Linked DNA regions of Homo sapiens: region 1 is linked to region 2. Evidence: promoter capture Hi-C in human tissues and cell types (Jung and others, 2019). All regions are on one chromosome and are shown on one strand. Each heading gives the region's core, a stretch centred on a gene start or on the middle of the fragment in contact. The rest is flanking DNA. Distances are from core to core; before and after follow the strand shown. Region 1 overlaps NAGPA (N-acetylglucosamine-1-phosphodiester alpha-N-acetylglucosaminidase). Region 2 holds the start of ROGDI (rogdi atypical leucine zipper).

The links. The method cuts DNA at HindIII sites, captures the fragments that hold promoters and counts their contacts. A contact is called where the count stands out against the background at its distance.
Region 1: a contact is called between a fragment that was not itself captured here and the fragment with the promoter of ROGDI in region 2, in 1 of the 25 tissues and cell types used here (hippocampus).

What each region holds. Positions count from the first base shown.
Region 1 is chr16:5,021,979-5,027,778 of GRCh38, reverse strand. NAGPA (N-acetylglucosamine-1-phosphodiester alpha-N-acetylglucosaminidase) reads left to right here. Exons shown (of 10, transcript NM_016256.4): 8 at 400-501; 9 at 581-644; 10 at 2,094-2,935. The coding sequence ends at 2,301. Among named protein-coding and RNA genes, the nearest start is that of NAGPA-AS1, 8.8 kb to the left of the region's middle. RefSeq lists a silencer at 2,077-2,371. The HindIII fragment of the contact is 7,059 bases long and covers 1-5,800 here.
Region 2 is chr16:4,799,896-4,803,882 of GRCh38, reverse strand. It overlaps ROGDI (rogdi atypical leucine zipper), which reads left to right and starts at 1,250. Exons shown (of 11, transcript NM_024589.3): 1 at 1,250-1,356; 2 at 1,430-1,501; 3 at 2,298-2,380; 4 at 2,562-2,616; 5 at 3,305-3,385. The coding sequence starts at 1,312. GLYR1 (glyoxylate reductase 1 homolog) reads left to right here. Exons shown (of 16, transcript NM_032569.4): 16 at 1-680. RefSeq lists silencers at 743-954, 847-1,636, 1,677-1,736 and an enhancer at 1,242-1,742. The HindIII fragment of the contact is 9,245 bases long and covers 1-3,987 here.

The DNA of each region.
Region 1 (5,800 bases), core at 1,192-3,691, 220 kb before region 2:
CTGCTTCTGTCTCCACCTTCTGGTCTGGGAAATGCTTGCCTCTTGTCTTCTGCCCCGGCCTCACCTGCACATCACTGTGTGACTCCCCTGTGGCTGCTGCGGCCCGTTCCACAAAGGGCTCGGCTAAAACAAGGGTCCCCGGGCTCTGGCTCCAGGGCCCACCTCAAATCCAGCACGGTCTTATCTTGAGATCCTAACTGCAGTGCCTCTGTAGAGATTCTGCTTCCAAATAAGGTCACGTTCAGGGGCTAGTCCAGGGAGGGCAGGGGGTGCTTCACCTTTAGCCCGGCTCTGTACACATGGGCAGGGGCAGGTATCCTGTCCTGTCGAGAAAGGCTCTGACACTGGAGGCCCCAACCTTTCTCCTCCCTCCTCCCTCCTCCCATCTCCTTTCCATAGAGTGTCCCCTTGGCTGGCATGGGCCGGGCTGCCAGAGGCCTTGTAAGTGTGAGCACCATTGTCCCTGTGACCCCAAGACTGGCAACTGCAGCGTCTCCAGAGGTACCTATCCCTCCAAGGGGAGGGGTATGGGCAGACGCTCCTGCTCCGGCCCCTTCAGCCTGTCTCTGGTATGTTACAGTAAAGCAGTGTCTCCAGCCACCTGAAGCCACCCTGAGGGCGGGAGAACTCTCCTTTTTCACCAGGTAGGTGCTTCTGTGGGAGCTGGGGCCAGGGCGGGAGGAATCCCCCTTCTCTCCCGCACCCTTCCCCTGTGAGGTCCATCTCTGCCCTTGTCCCCTGCCAGCTCCCTGCCTTAGAGGAAGCGGGACCAGCTCTCCCCACTGTCTGCTTTGGGGACCCTGGAGCAGAGCCCAGGGCCTTCGAGTGCCCAGCCTCTGTTGTCAGCATCCCCCACTGGAGCTCAGAATGCAAACTGGGCTAGATGAGATCCCAGGGTGGGGGCAGGAGGTTTCCTCATTCTGTCACCCAGGCAGAAGTGCTGTAGTACAGTCAGCTCACTGCGATCCTCCCGCCTCAGCCTCCCAAGTAGCTAGGACGACAGGCACGTGCCCCCATGCCCGGCTAATTTTATTTCTTACTGTTTTTTAGAGATAGGATCTCACTATTTTGCACAGACGAGGTGCACAGTCCTGGGCTCAAGTGATCCTCCCACCTTGGCCTCCCAGCCCCCATGCCCAGCATCCAGCTGTGTTTTATTTGGCTTACATAATTTTTAAAAAGTTAAAATATATCAGCAGCATCTAAAAATCAGTAACATTCACATTTTTTTAAACTTTTTTTTTTGAGACGGGGTCTCACTCTGTTGCCTAGGCTGGAGTGCAGTGGTGCGATCTCAGCTCACCACAACCTCCGCCTCCTGGGTTCAGGCAATTCTCCTGCCTCAGTCTCCTGAGTAGCTGGGATTACAGGTGCCCGGCTAATTTTCATATTTTTAGTAGAGACAGGATTTCGCCATGTTGGCCAGGCTGGTCTTGAACTCCTGACCTCAAGTGATACGCCCGCCTAAGCCTCACAAAGTGCTGGGATTGCAGGCATGAGCACCACGCCCAGCCTTAAAAACCTTTTTAATGGCTTCTCTTAAAATATCAGGCCAGGCGTGGTGGCTCACGCCTGTAATCCTAGCACTTTGGGAGGCCGAGGCAGGTGGATCACTTGAGGTCAGGAGTTCAAGACCAGCCTGGCCAACATGGTGAAACCTGGTCTCTACTGAAAATACGAAAATTAGCCAGGCGTGGTGATTCGAGCCTGTAGTCCCAGCTACTCGGGAGTCCAAGGCAGGGGAATCGTTTGAAGCCAGGAGGCGGAGATTGCAGTGAGCTGAGATCATGCCACTGCACTCCAGCCTGGATGACAGGGCGAGACTCTGTCTCAAAAAAAAAAAAAAAAAATCAGGAGATGGGGCAGCACGGACCTGCATTGTACGTCATGACTGCCTCTGCTGTTCCCTGCACATGTCTTAAATGTTGCCCCATCCCCACCTAGTCCATTTTGCTCATAACATTCCCTGTGTGGTCCCTGGAGGCACCTGATTTAGTGCTATCTATGCCGGGTAGAGGGAAGCCCCTCCAGTGCTACCCAAGCCCTGAGCCCACCCAGCAGTCCCCCACTTGGGGCTTCTCTCCTGTCTGCAGGACCGCCTGGCTAGCCCTCACCCTGGCGCTGGCCTTCCTCCTGCTGATCAGCACTGCAGCAAACCTGTCCTTGCTCCTGTCCAGAGCAGAGAGGAACCGGCGCCTGCATGGGGACTATGCATACCACCCGCTGCAGGAGATGAACGGGGAGCCTCTGGCCGCAGAGAAGGAGCAGCCAGGGGGCGCCCACAACCCCTTCAAGGACTGAAGCCTCAAGCTGCCCGGGGTGGCACGTCGCGAAAGCTTGTTTCCCCACGGTCTGGCTTCTGCAGGGGAAATTTCAAGGCCACTGGCGTGGACCATCTGGGTGTCCTCAGCCCCTGTGGGGCAGCCAAGTTCCTGATAGCACTTGTGCCTCAGCCCCTCACCTGGCCACCTGCCAGGGCACCTGCAACCCTAGCAATACCATGCTCGCTGGAGAGGCTCAGCTGCCTGCTTCTGGCCTGCCTGTGTCTGCTGCCGAGAAGCCCGTGCCCCCGGGAGGGCTGCCGCACTGCCAAAGAGTCTCCCTCCTCCTGGGGAAGGGGCTGCCAACGAACCAGACTCAGTGACCACGTCATGACAGAACAGCACATCCTGGCCAGCACCCCTGGCTGGAGTGGGTTAAAGGGACGAGTCTGCCTTCCTGGCTGTGACACGGGACCCCTTTTCTACAGACCTCATCACTGGATTTGCCAACTAGAATTCGATTTCCTGTCATAGGAAGCTCCTTGGAAGAAGGGATGGGGGGATGAGATCATGTTTACAGACCTGTTTTGTCATCCTGCTGCCAAGAAGTTTTTTAATCACTTGAATAAATTGATATAATAAAAGGAGCCACCAGGTGGTGTGTGGATTCTGAATCATGGACTTAGGTCACTGCTAGGGCTTAGCAGGTGTGGCTTATCCTGAAACAGAAGTCACAACGGCATCCTGGAGCCAAGTCCTGTTCCCTGCTTGTTTAATCCAGTGCTTATCAAACTTTAATATGCCACAGGTCACGAGGAGATCTTGTTAAAATGCAGATTTGGGCCTGGGGTGAGGCCAGCAATTCTGCGTTTCCAACAAGCTCTCTGACGATGCTGATGCTTCAGGTCCCCAGACCACACTTCTTGTCTTTCTTAGAAACAGGGTCTCGCTCTGTTGCCCTGGCTGGAGTGCAATGGCACGATCTCGGCTCACTGCAATTTTGACCTCCTGGGCTCAAGTGATTCTCCCACCTCAGTCTCTCAAGTAGCTGGGACTATAGGCACATGCCACCATGCCCAGCTAATTTTTAAAATTTTTTTTGCAGAGAAGGGGTGTCACTGAGTTGCCCAGGCTGGTCTCAAGCTCCTGGCCTCAAGTCAACCTCCTGCCATGGCCTCCCAAAGTGCTGAGATTACAGGTTCGAGCCACTGCGCCTGGCCCCTGACCATAATTTGAATGACCAGGGCTTAGTTTTTCCTCACAGTATTTTTATAGAATTTAAATTAGTTACCCATGTTTAAAAGTCAAGAGATTTTAAAATAAATAAGGGCGGGGGTGCAGTGGCTCACGCCTGTAATCCCAGCACTTTGGGAGGCTGAGGTGGGCGGATCACCTGAGGTCAGGAGTTCGAGACTAGCCTGGCCAACATGGCAAAACCCCGTCTCTACTAAAAATACAAAACAGGCATGGTGGTGGGAGCCTGTAATCCAGTTACTCAGGAGGCTGAGGCAGGAGAATCGCTTGAACCCGGAAGGTGGAGGTTGCAGTGAACTGAGATCGCACCGCTGCACTCCAGCCTGGGCAACAGAGCAAGACTCCATCTCAAAAAGTCCAGAGATTGACAAAAATTCCAGCTTGCTGGTTTCTCTTTAAAGATCTGGCAGCCCTGGTGGGCGCCTGCACAAGTCACCAGGCCAGCTCAGATTCAGGGAGAAGGGAAACGGGCTCTGCCTCTTAAAAAGGAGCTGCAAAGTCAGGCGCCTTAGAGTCATTCAGGTGTATTCCTAAGAGCAGTTCCCAAGCCTGGCTGCAGATCCTGGAATCTACAGGGATCACTCTCAGTCTGACGCCACGGCCACGATGATGGCCATGATGACCATCCTGAAATGACCCTTGGCCTGAGAACCATGACCTCTGAGGGGACATCTCTGTTGTGCTGGCGGCTAAGTTGGAAAAGTGACAGTCCTGTGCACTGGAATCCAGGCCCAGAGGCAGCAGTACCTGAAGAGGGCCTGTCACAGCAAAGTTAGAGGGGTCCCAGGTCAGGTGACTCAAACATGCCAAGCGGTGTGAGTCCTGTGGCCCCTGGAATTTTTTTTTTTTTTTTTTTTGAGACAGTCTCATTTTGTTCCCCAGGCTGGAGTGCAATGGTGCAACCTCGGCTCACTGCAACCTCTGCCTCCCGGGTTCAAGCGTTTCTCATGCCTCAACCTCCCAAGTAGCTGGGATTTCAGGCATGCACCACCATGCCTGGCTAATTTTTGTATTTTTAGTAGAGGCGGGGTTTCACTATGTTGGCCAGGCTGGTCTCGAACCCTTGGCCTAAAGTGATCCACCCGCCTGGGCCTCCCAAAGTGCTGGGATTACAGGTATGAGCTGCCGCACCCAGCCTGTAATTTCTTTTTAATTTGTCATTGTGTTATTGATTTTCTTTGCCTGCCCGACATCCAGTCTCTCTTCTAGCAACAGCCCTGTCTTAGGCTAGGATTCCCCAGATGCAGAAACTAAGACAAGGAGGTGAGAGCAAGTACTTTATTGGGGAGGCGGCCCCAGGAAGCACTGGTAGAGGACAGGGAGGGAAGGCAGCCTGTGCAGAGTGCAGGAGTGAGCAAGTCTATACTGTAGGCAACAGGGGCTCAATCCTGCTGGGGGCCTCTGGGACAGTTGGTAGAACAGGTCTTGGTTGCACCACACAAGGGCGAGGAAGCTGGGGTATTTATCAGCCAACACCCATTCATCATTGGTTGAGGGCCGCTCCTGGGGGTTGACTCCCTGGCAGTGCCAGTCTGCCCTACCCAGAGACCGAATGTGCCCTGGCAACCACAGGGAGCTGTGGGAAAGTTGCAACATCTTGTGACCTGAAGCCTTCCATGGTAATGAGAGTGCCCGGGGAGGTGGCCACTTCTGCCTCCTGCTCCACGTCCTATCTAAGGTCTGCCGTCCAAAATCTAAATGCCTGAGCCCCAAAATGTGCCTCTCCTGTAACAGTACAAGTGTCACACGTTTTGGGTTGCCGGAGACCCCAAAACCCAGGAGCCCTGGCTGTGAGCCTCTAGCGTGTTGCTATCAGGGTAGTACCTCTCCCCCATTCTCCATCCAGGTGGTTTGGGTGGCACTGTCTTCTCACCCCAAGTTGCAGGTGGGCCTGAGAGATTGGTCCAGAGTTAGGCACCTGCCCCGGGTCAGCCCGTCAGAGCCCATCGTGGAACTTCTGCTGCAGCTGGAAGAAGAAACTCTCTCTGCTGGGACTGTCTAACTTCCAAGGTTAGACACAAGGAGGGCCACAAGGTGGGCCAAGGTGGGCCACAAGGAGGAGGAACGGAAACCAACTCTTCTCCAGTGTGGAGAAGACCTGATCAGAACCAAGAGATGGAGCGGGTGAGCCAGTGTGGAAAACGACTAGACTGAGGGTGTTGGGGTGGGGGTGGGGGGACATGATTTGAATGCCTGGATCCAGCTATACCTGAAGCCAGCCAGATCATTCTTGGACTTCCGAATTACATGAACCCATAAATTCCCATTTTTTGCTTGAGGCAATT
Region 2 (3,987 bases), core at 1-2,500:
TTTTTTATCCCTCTGCATGGGTTGGATTTTCCAAAATCATAATTTGCAGAAGGAAGGCCAGCATTTACGATGCAATATGTAATTATATATAGGGTGGCCACACTAGGGCGGGGTCCTTCCCCCCTCACAGCTTTGGCCCCTTTCAGAGATTAGAAACTGGGTTAGAGGATTGCAGAAGACGAGTGGGGGGAGGGCAGGGAAGATGCCTGTCGGGTTTTTAGCACAGTTCATTTCACTGGGATTTTGAAGCATTTCTGTCTGAACACAAAGCCTGTTCTAGTCCTGGCGGAACACACTGGGGGTGGGGGCGGGGGAAGATGCGGTAATGAAACCGGTTAGTCAATTTTGTCTTAATATTGTTGACAATTCTGTAAAGTTCCTTTTTATGAATATTTCTGTTTAAGCTATTTCACCTTTCTTTTGAAATCCTTCCCTTTTAAGGAGAAAATGTGACACTTGTGAAAAAGCTTGTAAGAAAGCCCCTCCCTTTTTTCTTTAAACCTTTAAATGACAAATCTAGGTAATTAAGGTTGTGAATTTTTATTTTTGCTTTGTTTTTAATGAACATTTGTCTTTCAGAATAGGATTGTGTGATAATGTTTAAATGGCAAAAACAAAACATGATTTTGTGCAATTAACAAAGCTACTGCAAGAAAAATAAAACACTTCTTGGTAACACAGCTGTGCCGCAGGAGTCCTGCTTCCCTCGTCCTCGGCGAGATGGGTGGGAGGAGAAGGCAGCGGCGGGGCCGGGGTGGGTTTTCGGGACCTCCGCGTCCGGGGTGAGACGGACTTGGGAGTGGCGGCGAGGTCCGCGGCAGGGTTGGAACCACGACCAATGGAGCCAAGCGGGCCAATAGGGAGGAGGAGCGGGGACAGACTGTCCTGCCGGCCAATGAGTGAGCGCGAGTGGAGCAGAGCGCCCTATCATATCCTGGGGGCGCCCCGGGAGCTCCGCCCCCAAGCGGGCGCCCCAGGCTGGTGCCGGCCGCGTCCCTGGCCAGCCGGAGCAAGCCTGACTCGTGCAGCCGCCGGCCGCGTCCCTGGCCAGGCGGAGCGAGCCTCACTCCCGCAGCCGCCAGTCTGGTTCCAGGGCTCCCGCAGGTTTCGGGGGCCGAGGCGGACCGACAGGCGCCAGCCAATCGCGAGCACGGAGCCGGCCTGGGGGCGGGGTGGTACCCGCTCCGCCAATCGGGTGGGGGCGGAGCCAGACGCCGGGGGCGGACGGGAGGACCGGAGGACCGAGGACAGAAAGATTGGTGGACAGGAGCAGCGGCCGGTGGGGAGGGCGCTCGGCGGCGGCCTGCGGCCATGGCCACCGTGATGGCAGCGACGGCGGCGGAGCGGGCGGTGCTGGTAAGGCGCGCGGGCCAGCGGGCGGGCCGGCGGGGCGGCGGGGCCGGGCGCGACCGCCGGGTCTGTCCCGCAGGAGGAGGAGTTCCGCTGGCTGCTGCACGACGAGGTGCACGCTGTGTTGAAGCAGCTGCAGGACATCCTCAAGGTAACGACCCGCGCCCTGCCCCGCCGGGCGTGGCGGCCCTCCCTCCTCATTTCCCTGGCTCCACCTGGGGCCGCGCGGCTGCGTCCTGAGCGCCTACAGTGTGCGGCTGCCGCGGCTTTCAGGCAGGGCCCCGCCTCCGCGAACTCGAGCCGACCTCATTATATAAGTACCTGTGTGCGGGCAGGGGCGGGTCCCGACGAGGGTGCTAGCAAGGGCCTGAGTCCCGCCCGGCCTCGGGTCGGGGAAGGCCGCCTTGGGAGCAGCGGCATCCAATCTGGGAGCCGAAGAATTCTGCCTCTGCCTGGCAGTGTGACTTCAGCCAAGTCACTGAACCTCCCTGGGCCTCCCTTTTCTCATTGGCAAAAGGGAGATAACAGTACCCGCTTCGCGAGGCTGGGGTGTAGATAAATGAGCCAGGCAGCTCACAGAAGTAACCGGCGTAGTGCTTGCTGTGGCCCAGGACCGCGGGTTACCATAACTACTGCCTTGTTCCCTGACTCTGCCCCTTGCCCCTTTCCCCCTCAACCAAGCTGGGAGGCTGCCCCTGTCTGTTTTGTATTCCCCGAGGCGGGCACACAGGAGGTGTTCAGGGAATGTGGTATAAGCAGAGATCGGGCTCACGGTTAGGTGCCCTGGGGGCTTGGGCAGGGTCTTCCCACCCCAGCTGAACCCAGGTGAGGCCAGGCCACGTTGTTCCTTCCCCCCGCTGACTTGGAGGGAGGGGGGCTTCTGGAAGGAGCACTGGGCCGGGCCTGAGTGGGCGCTACCAGCTCCCCTCCTTCCCTCTGTTCCACAGGAGGCCTCTCTGCGCTTCACTCTGCCGGGCTCCGGCACTGAGGGGCCCGCCAAGCAAGAGAACTTCATCCTAGGCAGCTGTGGGTGAGCCTGGGCTAGGCGGAAACCGGGGAAATGGGTACCTTGGGGGGTAGGAGGCATGGCCATAGCCCTGTCCTGCAGACCAGCTGGTTGTGCGATGGGACAGGAGGGGCAGCCCGCCGGGAGGGAGGGCTGGGTGGTGGGGGGGTGACCACAGGCACCGCTCTGACGCCACATGTTACAGCACAGACCAGGTGAAGGGTGTGCTGACTCTGCAGGGGGATGCCCTCAGCCAGGCGGTGAGTCCCCCGGCCCTGTCCCCTCCCATCCTGCCAATGGGGAAGAGCATGGGAGCTCCCACTTTCTCTCTGTACAAGCCCTGCGACTCTGGGCGGGACCCTTGATCTCTCTGGCCTCAGTTTTCTCCTTTGGAAAATGACAGCAACCCTCACACCTTCTCCCGGGATCGGTGTGCAGATTCAGTAAGAGGTGCAGGAGAGGGGTTCTTTGCACACGGCCTGGCCTGGCGTCCGGACCAGTGAAACATGGGCATTGGTGGATTAGGCTGGCCACACATCACAGTTGAATCAGCCAATGCCTGAACTCCAGTCTGCACCCGACTCTGTGCCAGGCACCAAGGCGTGGGGGGAGGCCCCCCTCCTGGGCTCCATCTGTTGCCCTTTGTAGACACTAGATGCACCCCGTTCGCACAGAGCCTCACAGAGGCTGCCTTTCCTCTTCCCCTTCCCCTTTCTTCACCTCTTTCCATTTCACTTCTTTGTGGCTCTTCTTGGGCCTGGTTTCCTGTTTCCTGACCTCCCTGTTCAACCCCCAAACGGCCAAGGCATTGGGAGACCCTCTGCCCTATACAGCGGCCAAGGCCTGAACCACCACACACCCCATTTCTGCCCTGGGCTTAAGGGCTCAGAGTGGCTGTGGCAGGAGGTGCCCCCCCACTGCCCAGCTCACCCCACTCTTGCCTGTCAGGATGTGAACCTGAAGATGCCCCGGAACAACCAGCTGCTGCACTTCGCCTTCCGGGAGGACAAGCAGTGGAAGCTGCAGCAGGTGACCCCGCCCCTCCTGGCTAGTGCTCAGCCACAAGGACAGGCGGCAGCAGGCCTGCCGCGGGGCCTCCCTGGAGAGGGACTAGCCCTGGGGATCTGTGGCCACAGCAAGCCTGGGAGGGTGTTTCCTAACAGCAAAGCTGGGGGCAGGCGTTTCCTGAAGCCCTGGAGGCTGCGCCATGTGGGGAGGTAGAGAACCTGGCCTGAGAGCCCCGAGGGCCACATCGGGACTGTGGAGTCCCCACAGCAGCTGGCTGGATGAGATGGTTCAGAAGCCCTCTGAAAAGTCACTCCCTTGCCCAGAGCCTCCAGGGACTTGCCATGGCTCTGGGGATGAGGCCCATGCTCCCTGGCAGCTCCTGTACCAATGGGCCCCAGCCTCCTCCCCTGCCCCCTCCACCCCGACTGTCTCCATCTCAGCACCCTTGCCCCTGCCTTGTCGCCCTGTTTGCTTCCCTCCGCAACTCGCACAGACTCTTGTCTTGGGCATTACTGTGTGTCCATCCCTTAGAAAGGAGGGGGCAGTCAGCTTGGGCAGAGACCAGGCCTGCCCCAGGTGATGCCAGATGCCCATCACCTGGCGTGGACCTGGCCCTCTGGGGC